2 separate regions of the Homo sapiens genome follow, and region 2 is linked to region 1. Evidence: promoter capture Hi-C in 16 types of primary human blood cells and fetal thymus (Javierre and others, 2016). All regions are on one chromosome and are shown on one strand. Each heading gives the region's core, a stretch centred on a gene start or on the middle of the fragment in contact. The rest is flanking DNA. Distances are from core to core; before and after follow the strand shown.

The links. The method cuts DNA at HindIII sites, captures the fragments that hold promoters and counts their contacts. A CHiCAGO score of 5 or more calls a contact.
Region 2: the fragment with the promoter of FHOD1 here is called in contact with the fragment with the promoter of CDH16 in region 1 in 7 of 17 cell types (neutrophils, non-activated CD4 T cells, naive CD8 T cells and 4 more); the score reaches 7.6 in neutrophils.

Annotation. Positions count from the first base shown.
Region 1 is chr16:66,916,114-66,921,275 of GRCh38, reverse strand. It overlaps CDH16 (cadherin 16), which reads left to right and starts at 2,391. Exons shown (of 18, transcript NM_004062.4): 1 at 2,391-2,472; 2 at 3,198-3,255; 3 at 3,551-3,634; 4 at 4,847-5,002; 5 at 5,073-5,162. The coding sequence starts at 3,211. The HindIII fragment of the contact is 16,817 bases long and covers 1-4,626 here.
Region 2 is chr16:67,245,308-67,250,469 of GRCh38, reverse strand. It overlaps FHOD1 (formin homology 2 domain containing 1), which reads left to right and starts at 2,989. Exons shown (of 22, transcript NM_013241.3): 1 at 2,989-3,260. The coding sequence starts at 3,060. It overlaps SLC9A5 (solute carrier family 9 member A5), which reads right to left and starts at 1,491. Exons shown (of 16, transcript NM_004594.3): 1 at 1,269-1,491. The coding sequence starts at 1,455. RefSeq lists enhancers at 753-1,252, 1,253-1,754, 4,155-4,814 and silencers at 1,430-1,539, 1,840-1,929, 1,950-2,039, 2,682-3,051, 3,952-4,051. The HindIII fragment of the contact is 13,502 bases long and covers 1-5,162 here.

The DNA.
Region 1 (5,162 bases), core at 1,142-3,641:
GCTGGTATTTCTGCCCTGTTCCCTCTTGAGGGGCTGGAATCAGCTGAGGTTGGGGATAGAGACCTCCGAGGGGTGGTTTGTGAAGGCACACACAGCTCCACATGGCTCCTCCACCACTTCACTGGGGTTGAGCTACGGAGGAGGCACTCACTGTTCTCTCTACCATGAGTATCCAGGCCAGAACATTCCATGCTCAGCATTGGCTAATTCAGTTTTGGTGGGAACAGCTGCCGGGAGCCCGCCCTGCCTGGAATGAGAGGTCTTGCATTTGTATAGGAAGGTGTACTCGTGCTTATGTTTAGGGATGCACCTGTCTCCCTGCCCACCCATGCCCATGGCTCCCTCACCCTCGGCACAAGTGCTGCTAAGAGTTTTTATCTACATGGTCTCAGGAAAAACCATCCCCATCTGGTGCTGGGTGGGAAGTGGCTGAGTGGGGACTGGTATACAGGTCTGCCCATCTCCAAAGCCTGGAGGCAGCCTGGGGCGAGGTGGGGGGCAGTTTCTAAGAAGGTTCTGGGCCAAGGTCCATACATTCCTTCCTTAGTTCAATTTATTCAATTTATTCATTCCCTCACCCTCGGCACAAGTGCTGCTAAGAGTTTTTATCTACATGGTCTCAGGAAAAACCATCCCCATCTGGTGCTGGGTGGGAAGTGGCTGAGTGGGGACTGGTATACAGGTCTGCCCATCTCCAAAGCCTGGAGGCAGCCTGGGGCAAGGTGGGGGGCAGTTTCTAAGAAGGTTCTGGGCCAAGGTCCATACATTCCTTCCTTAGTTCAATTTATTCAATTTATTCATTCCACAGACTCCAGGGAGCCCTGGCAACCTGGTTAGAATCCTGATTGCAGCTTATTGAATGGCAGGAGGAGGCTTGAGGGCTGCCCCTCCATGTACAGGGGAGCGCTGAGATTCACCCACGTGCTCCCCAGGGCAGAGGTAACTGCTCAGAGCTGTTGCTGCTCTGCCCCTCCTCCCCACATACTTCAAGGAATGCAGAAGGCATGGTATTTTCAGATCAAGTGAGGGTCCCCAGGCCTTCCTGGCTCTGTCACTTATTGACTGTGTGACCCTAGGCAAACCACTCAGCTTCTCTGTGCCCCAGCATGTGCCCAATGCCCCTTCAGAACGCAGTATGTGGCATAATGAAGGTATGTGCTCAGAGCAGTGCTGGGCACAGAGCAGGAGCTTAACACGTGTGAAACCCCCTTCAACCTCCCCACACTACACTGCTCCAGGCTGGGTGCCAGAGTGACCCTGAAGCAGGCACTCAGCTTGTGACAAGGCTGGGGGCAGCTGGGGGTAGCTTCTGGCCTGAGAGAGACTAATCAGATGTACAGTGGGAAGGACTTCGTGGGGACCATGGGAAGCTCCAAGGCTGGAGAGGGACTGGAGACCTTCTTCCCACCCTCTCCCCTCATTCCAGACTCCCAGGCCCCAGAAGCATCTCCTGGCTCTGCTTGGCTGCCCTCATTGCGGGGAGAGCCCCTGTTCAGCCCTGCAACTCCCTCAAGGTCACCTGAGCCAGTTTAATCTTCTTAGGGGCATGAGACTGCCCACTGTCTCAGCCCTGTCACTGTTGAGTGGCCAGTGTAAGGACTTCGGGAGCTCATAGGCTGCTGCACTCCCCCACCACAGGTCCCCCTGGGGGGGGTGGTCTGGAGCCCCAATACCCACTTCCACTCATGTACTGCTCACCCATCCTTTGCAACCTCCAGCTCCTTGTCTTAGTTCCACAAGCCATGCGGAGCTGCCAGGGCAGAATGAGAGCCAGGTCATTCCTGAGTCCCTGAGTTCTGCTCTCAAAGGGCTCCCAATCTAATGGAAGAGGCAGACAATGACAAGCTGGTGTCCTCTGTGTATTAATAGAGATAGCACATGGCATGGTGTGAGGGGGAGGGGCATTCCCAGAGGAGGCTCCTGAACAAGCCTGGGAACATAGGGGAAGTTTCCTGGAAAAAGGAATATTTGAGCTGAGCACTGAAGCATGCATGAGCAGGTGCTTACCACACAGATGAATGAGTGGGAAGGGTGTTCCATGCAAAAGGAACAGAGTGTGAAAAGGTGTGGCTGCAGACACTGGAGCCTGGGAGATAAGTCAGACCAAGTCTGGAGCCACAGAAAAAGTAACGTCCAGAACCAGAGGGCCAAGGAATACCTCCTGGGCTGTGCTGGGGTCGAGGGAGTGCCAGGCCAACCATCTCCCCACCTCCTGGAGCTGGCAGTCACGGATGCTGAGCAGCTCCTGGCTTTCCAAAGTCAATGAGTAACTTGGGGGGCTGGGCGGGGCCAGGCCTGCTGCTGTGGGCCCAGTGGCCTTTTCCACTCCTGAGCAAGCGTGGCTGAACCCTCCTACCTGCTCAAGTGCCCTGCCTTGCCCCACCCAGCCCAGCCTGGCCAGAGCCCCCTGGAGAAGGAGCTCTCTTCTTGCTTGGCAGCTGGACCAAGGGAGCCAGTCTTGGGCGCTGGAGGGTGAGGGGCTGGGAGTGGAGGGGAGGGCATGGCTGAGGCTGAGGTTGGTGGTGGGGAAAGGAGAAACACTGCCCTGTCCTCGCCATCTGGGAAAGAATTCCCAGGGCCTCATCTTAGAGGGGTTGTCGATTTGTCGCTGCTCTGCCTGCCCAGCTCCATGACAAGGGCTGGAAAATGATGAGACAAGGGCCGGGCTCCTGCTCCGGGGGTTCTCCTTGTCTAGAAGGTGGCAGTGGGAGGCAGGACAGTCCCAGAGGCCCTGAGCTAGGAGGACTCCTCCTGTGGTCAAGTCCTCTGTGACCTTGGCCAGACCCCAGCATTCAGGCCTTGCCTGCAACAAGAGGTGACTTCAGGAAGTGACCCTCCAAGTCTTCAGGAACTTTCCAGCTTCAAACTTTTGTGATTTGGGGGATTGCTAGAAAATTACCACTTTGGGATCTGCGGCCTGGGGAGGCTATGGTGAGAAGGAGCTGGAGGTCTGGAGGTGAAATTCTGATAGAGTGCTTGATGGACCAAGAGCCTAGAAGCAGGGTGGCTGGGCCTGGGGGCCTTGGTGGGCCTGGCCGAGGAGCAGGGCACTACCCTGCAGGAGATGGAGAGCCTCAGCTCCTTTGGAGGGGAGGAAGAGAAGACTAGTCTGCAGTACGATCCCACTAGTTGTGTGTGTGGGATGGAAAGCCCCTCCCTACCCACCTGGGCTGGATCCTCACTGCCGTGTCCCTCAGGCCTGTCCTGACCATGGTCCCTGCCTGGCTGTGGCTGCTTTGTGTCTCCGTCCCCCAGGTGAGCTAGGCCCTGCCCCCTCTCCTTCAGGTCTTGGCTTTGGGGGTTGACACCCTTGCCCCCAACTCCACCTGGACCAATTGCACTGACCGTGAGAACGGTGCAAGGCATGGGAGGGGTCAGAGCTGGGACTATAGAGCCACTGTGGGATGAGGAGGTCAAAGACCAGAGCGCGGGTGGATGGACTAAGGTACAGCCAGGCCCTGGGAAGGGGCGGAAATTCCGCTCTTCTGTTGGGTCTCAGTGCCCACGCAGGAAGATAGAGCCTGGTGACAAGGTGAGAATCCTCCCACAGGCTCTCCCCAAGGCCCAGCCTGCAGAGCTGTCTGTGGAAGTTCCAGAAAACTATGGTGGAAATTTCCCTTTATACCTGACCAAGGTGAGCCGGAGAGCTGGGGTTGGGGCCGGGGGGATCCCTCCCCGCAAAGTCCTGCTTCTCCTTCCTCTGGCACCCTTCCTCTTGCTGTTTCTCTTTGAAATCCTGCTTTCCAGAGAGTATGTACACGTTACACAGGTTGAGTGTCCCCTATCTGAAATGCTTGGGACCAGAAGTGTTTCAGATTTTGGATTTTTTTTTTTCTTCAGATTTTGGAATATTTGCATATATATCATGAGATATCTTGGGGAATGGAACCCAAATCTAGATAGGAAATTCATTTATGTTTCATATACATCTTATACACATAGCCTGAAGGTAACGTTATACATTTTTTTTTCTTTTGAGACGAAGTTTCGCTCTTGTCGCCCAGGCTGGAGTGCAGTAGCATGTTCTCAGCTCACTGCAACTTCCACGTCCTGGGTTCAAGAGATTCTCCTGCCTCAGCCTCCTGAGTAGCTGGGACTACAGGCATGCACCACCACTCCTGGCTAATTTTTTTTTTTTTTTTTTGTATTTTTAGTAGAGACAGGGTTTCGCCATGTTGGCCAGGCTGGTCTTGAACACCTCACCTCAGGTGAGCCGCCCGTCTTGGGCTCCCAAAGTGCTGGGATTACCACTTTGGGATTTGCGAGCTGGGGAGGCTATGGCCAGAAGGAGCTGACAGTACAGAGGTGAAATTCCGACAGAATCCTTGAGTGGCCAAGAGCCCAGTGTGAGTCTGCTCCTGGGCGAATATTTTTAATGATTTTGTGCATGAAACAAAGTTCTGACTATGTGTTGACTGTGACCTGTCACATGAGGTCAGATGCGGCATTCTGTACTTGTCACATCATATTGGCGCTCAAAAAGTTTCAGATTTTGAGTATTTCAGATTTCAGATTTTCGGGTTAGAGATGCTCAACCTGCAGTGGGAATGACTAACAGATTTTAATCCTAGTGGAGAGCAGAGCTTTAGATTAAAGAACGAAATCTCGGTGGTGAGGTTTCAAGCTTCAGAAAGAAGGGCAGAGAGTTTTGGGGAGCATCAGGTCCAGGGAAAAGAGTTCTGGCTCTGAGTCTCAGTCCTGATGCTTACTGGCTGTGTGACCTCTGACAGGAGCCAGATGTCTCTGAGACTCAGTTTCCCCACATGTAAAATGAGGCCATCAGGTGGAGGAGGGGCATCTCCCAGGCCTGGCCACCGCTCCCTTCACTTCTGTTCATTTCCATCAGTTGCCGCTGCCCCGTGAGGGGGCTGAAGGCCAGATCGTGCTGTCAGGGGACTCAGGCAAGGCAACTGAGGGCCCATTTGCTATGGATCCAGATTCTGGCTTCCTGCTGGTGACCAGGGCCCTGGACCGAGAGGAGCAGGCAGAGTACCAGCTACAGGTATGGCTGGGCCAGGTGTAGGGGAGAGCAGGCAAGGCAGAGCCAGACGCTGACTCCCCTTCCCTGCCAGGTCACCCTGGAGATGCAGGATGGACATGTCTTGTGGGGTCCACAGCCTGTGCTTGTGCACGTGAAGGATGAGAATGACCAGGTGCCCCAT
Region 2 (5,162 bases), core at 1,740-4,239, 330 kb before region 1:
GTTGGCTCCAAACCTGAGGCTCTTTCTACTCTTACTCTCATTGCTGCTGGACCTCTAAGGTAAACATGGTCATAGATCTCTCCATACTTGTCCCTACTTTGGTCTCCCACTTCTCTCCTTCGGGGACCCTATTTCATCTTCATCTCTTCATGCATTAACCCCAGCCCCGAGATCCAAGCCCCATCACAGAACCACGCTCCCGGAAGGCATATTGAGTTCCACTTTCCATTATTAATCTCAGGCTGCCACAGCAGAGTGGAGAGTTCTGTTCCTGCCCAGCCCCCTCACCCCCTAGCAGTGTCCATGTGGGAGAAGAGGGGCAAATTCTAGGCTCTGGGTGATTCCTCCATGAAGGCTGTATTGGTGAGACTGGAGTACAGGCTGTGCCAGCATCCATGGGGAGAGAGTAGCAACGCTCAGCTATAATTAGTCACCCCCACAGCAGAGCCAGCACAACAGGGAGAAGGAGGAGGGTCTCTGGTGGGAGGAGGGACCACTGGCTGCTCAGAAGGGAGGAGGAAGGAGCAGATGCAAGGAAAAGCAGCTCTATTCAGGGAAAAAGAAGTCTGAAGCACAGCCTTCAATGCTGTCAGGACTGAAGAGGTCGGATGTATGAAAGCATCTAGGGTAGACAGCACACAGGAAGGCCCCGATACACGGAAGTTTCTTATACCCTGAAGTGAGAAGAATGTGGACCTGAACGTGGGTTGGGGGGGTACCCATACACAGGCACAAGAAGGCAGCAGCTTTAAGTGGGGAGCAGGGGAGAGCTGGAGGAAAAGTGGCAGTGTAGTTTCCCAAGGGAATGGACACTCGGACATGGTCTCCAGGGAAGGCTGCTTTTTCAGAACCAGGATGCCTGTGTTCTTGGGAGAACACCCTCCCCTCAATGTCCCCACACATCCTCACCAGCGACAGAGGTTTCTGGGAGGCTAGGGATTGGTGGGGGAGAGACCAGACTGAAGAGGGCCTACTGCAAGGGGAAGAGGGGAGCGGAGAGGGCAAAGGAGCCTACAGATGGAGTTGGGGAGAGCGGGGGACAGCCCTTCAGAAAGGCAAATCCTCAGAGCTCCCAGGGGAGAAGACAGGGACCTGGGACCCACAAGAAGCGATGCAGGAACTGGGCGAGAGCCCGGATTTGTGGAATCCAAACCTAAGTCCCAGCACCGTGCAAGAAGCCAGCCCCAATCTGAGGACCGAGGAGGTGGGGGTGTTGGGGGCGGGTCCGCCGCTGGCGGTCGGCCTGGCGCACGCACACACGCACTCACCGATTTTGGCCAGACTGGCCACCAGGATCCACAGGGCCACCAGGTAGGGCGCCTCCACCTCGTGCCACTGCCAGCGGAAGAGCTCTAAGCCTGGGGGAGGCTCGCCCGGGGACTCTGGCTTCTGGGTGGGCTCTTCGGCCGCCCCCGCCAGGGGCAGCGCGAGCAGGGACAGGGCGGCGCGCAGCATCCTGCCGCCTGCCCAGCCGCCCTCCCGGCACCGCACGGCCGCCGGCCCCGCGTCGCCGCCGCCACCTACCGGGCGCCCCCGCGTCACAGGCACGTGGGGCCCGCTCCCCCCAATCCCGGCTCCGATACCCCCAAGCCAGGTCCAGGCTCCGAGACCCTGCCTCGGACTCTCGTAGTCGGGGACTCTCTCCTCTTTCCTCCCTAAATCAGTCCCAGCTCCGGAAATTCCCCAGTGCAGCTCTCCCCCAAGTTCCACAACCTACTCCTTCGAGTCCGCGCCCCCAAACCTCCCCAAAACCGCCCCCACCAGATCCAGAGCGGTGCGCGGCCACGGCCCCCCTGGGGCAGCCCGCAGCGGGAAGGGCGGGGGTCTGCGGGGGGCGCGGTCAGGACGGGAGGGGCACGGCTCCTCCTCGGCCAGCGCTGCTGTGCGGCGAGCAGCACCCCCCTGGGACCAAGGCGCGGCCGGGTGCAAAACGCAGGGGACCGTGCTTGGCCGCCCTCCGCCCACGTTGCCAAGCCCAGGACCCCCTGCCGGCCCCCACCCGGACCTGAGCTGCGCACGCGCACTGGACGCTCCCCAAAGCAGTGACGGACAACGCTGCCCCCAACGTCCCAGAAACCCTAAGGCCCAGACTGGCCCAGCTCGTGCCAGGCGAAGAGGGAGGCTGTTCTTCATCTCCCAAACCAAGGGGCACCTGGCCCTCCCTTTCAGTCACACTACAGAGAACTGTCTCATCTCTTTGATGAAGCTGACAGGAACCTATGGAAAACCCAGCCTACTGATTCCCTTCAAACTAGGCGAGATGCACCCAACTTTTTCCAAATCTGAGGGGCATTCGGCTCATAGCGCCCCAAACAGAGGAGGACCGTCTCCACTTTTCATTCAGGCTGAGGGGCACCCATCCCACTTTTTCTCCAAAACTGAGGGGAACGTGTTCTATCTGCCCCCTCAAACTGACTCCTCCCAATCTTTTCCCAGAAAACTGAAGGGCATCCTTCCCTCTTCCTCCCACAACTAAAGGGAACTGATCCCACCTCTTCCTTCAAACTGGGTGGAATTTATTCTCACTTCTTGCTCCAAATTGAAGGGACCCCCTCTCACTGCTTTCCCTAAATGAGGAAACCACAGGGACTCACCCCTCAAATGGAAGGAATGAGGGCTATCTTGTCCCTCAACTGAGAGAGACCTGGCCGGCCACTATCTAAAGAAACTTCTGCCCCATCTGCCCTAACACCCCTCAAAGAGAACGCAGCCTCACTATCCCCAGACCAAAGAAAGCCTCCCCGCCTTCTGCGCGTTCTCGAAGGTGGGGCGCGAGCTCGGTTTTTCCCGCCCTCCTAGCCAGTGAACTAACGGGATTCCCATTGGGCCCTGTGAGTGGCTAGCGGCGGCCCCGCCTCCGGCAGTGGTTACCTCCTGGCGCGCACTCGGGGACTAATCTTGGCTCCACCCCCTTCCTCGGCCCCGCCTCCGTCTGGCCCCGCCCCTCCAGCCGCGTCCGGTCCGGCCGGGCCCGAACCGCGGAGCTACAGTGTGCTTTGAGTAGAAGCTGCACTGGGGCCGGGACTCGGAGGCGCGCTGCGTGAGCCGGCCGCAGAGCCATGGCGGGCGGGGAAGACCGCGGGGACGGAGAGCCGGTATCAGTGGTGACCGTGAGGGTGCAGTACCTGGAAGACACCGACCCCTTCGCATGTGCCAACTTTCCGGAGCCGCGCCGGGCCCCCACCTGCAGCCTGGACGGGGCGCTGCCCTTGGGCGCGCAGATACCCGCGGTGCACCGCCTGCTGGGAGCGCCGCTCAAGGTGAGGGAGGCCGGAGAAAGGTTGGGGCGATCGGGGGTTCAGGGTGGGCGCCATGAAAACTGGTGGGAGGTGCTCCGCGGGAAGAGGCTGGAGCGAGTGTTCTTCTCCGGAAAAGTCTTGGGCTGGGGTCCCAGGGTCCACTCTGCCCCGCCTGCGGGGGAGTCCCCTCTCAAGTTGAGGGGAAACTGAAGAGGGGTGCCAGGAACTTGGCTCCGCCATTCTGACTGCCCTTCGAATTAGGCGCACCTGGGGAGGTGCTCGAGTTCCACTCGCCGTCGGTCTGCCAGGGTGGCTTCCCTGGTCAGAGTGACGGTAGCCGCTTGGGCTGTAGCGGACCCTGGAGGCGGAGCTGGGGAGGGACCAGCTTCCACCTGCTTCAGGTGAGGTGGGGGCGGGACCACGAGGAGGGGCGGGCCCGAGGCGGACTACTAGAGGTGGCAGAGGTTTCCTGCGGTGTCAGGAAGCTGGATTGGGGCTTGACCCTGTAGGTCAATGGGAGTATGGGAGTGCCGGCCGAGGAGAGACTTCACGGGGTGAGGGGAGTCCCCGCGAAGCGGTCTGGCCCGGGATCCGCAGAGCGCAGGAGGCTGCACGGGTGTAAAAGCCCTTTGAGTCACCGCTCCCGCCCCCACCCCCGGACACTCGCCGCCCATCGGCCCGCGCCTGAAAGTGAGAGGGAGGGCCGGACTAATTTTAAACAGCCGGCCTGCCCTACTTTGCTGCCGCCCCGAAGCGGACTTGTGCACAGTGCGGAAAGAGGCCCTTTTCCAGATGGCCAGCCTACCTCCTCTCCCCTCCCTCTCGCCGCCGTCAGCCCCCCGCAGGCAGCCCTTTCCGGCGCGCTGTTTCCGGGCCAGGACTCTGGGAGGCGCACTACCACCTCCACAAGCTCCCCACCAGCCCGGCCGCCTCCAGTGCTGGAGAAGAGGAGAGAGAGTCGGGGTGGGTGCCCTCCCCTGCTCCCAGCCTCAGCTGGGCGGCGAGTTGCGTAAACTTGCCCCTTGGGCCTGGGGTCTTCCCTGGAATGTGCCCCGGGCCCCCAGCCCGCATTCCTCGCGCTGCGGCCAGCCCCGCCTCTGAGCGCTGGCGGGAGGGGTGGTGAGACTATTGGCCTGGAGAGTGGCACGTGTCCAGGCCAGAACCCCGGCTTCAAGGCCATGGCTGGAAGGATGCAGGACACTGCTCACCGCCAGTTTTGACTCAGCCCCCGCTTCTCTTGCCCTATTCAGAGGGGCAAATTGAGGTGTGCCTGGAAGAAGCGTGTGCAGCTGGAGGCCACCTCCCATTCAGGATGGGGGCTGGGAAGACAGGAGTGCTGAACTAAGACTGGTTCCCGCTTCCAGGCTCCTAAAGTCCGGATCCTGAAATAAGGGTGGGGCACTAGAGAATATATTGTATTCCTCTCATCCTGCAACTCAAGGATTGGACCTAGCCCTGACACCACCCCCCCGATTTTTTTTTTTTTAAGACGGATTCTGGCTCTGTCTCCCAGGCTGGAGTACAGTGGGGCTATCTTGGCTCACTGCAACCTCCACCTCCCGGGTTCTAGCAATTCTCGTGCCTCAGCCTTCCAAATAGCTGGGATTACAGGTGTGCGCCACCATACTCAGGTAATTTTTGTATTTTTAGTAGGGACAGGGTTTCTCCGTGTTGGCCAGCCTGGTCTCAAACTCCTGACCTCAGGTGATCTGCCTGCCTAAGCCTCCCAAAGTGCTGGGATTAAGGCTTGAGCCACCATGCCCAGCCCCTTGACACACCTCTTCCCAGCTGGGGGCAAGCCTGGGAAGTCAGCTGCAAGAAAGAGGCTCAGAACCACTCCTTCTATCTCCCTCTCATGGGACCCGTGTCCCCACCCAACCCTACCAGGTGCTCTGCCCTGTGTTCCCTGCTCCTTAGCTGAGG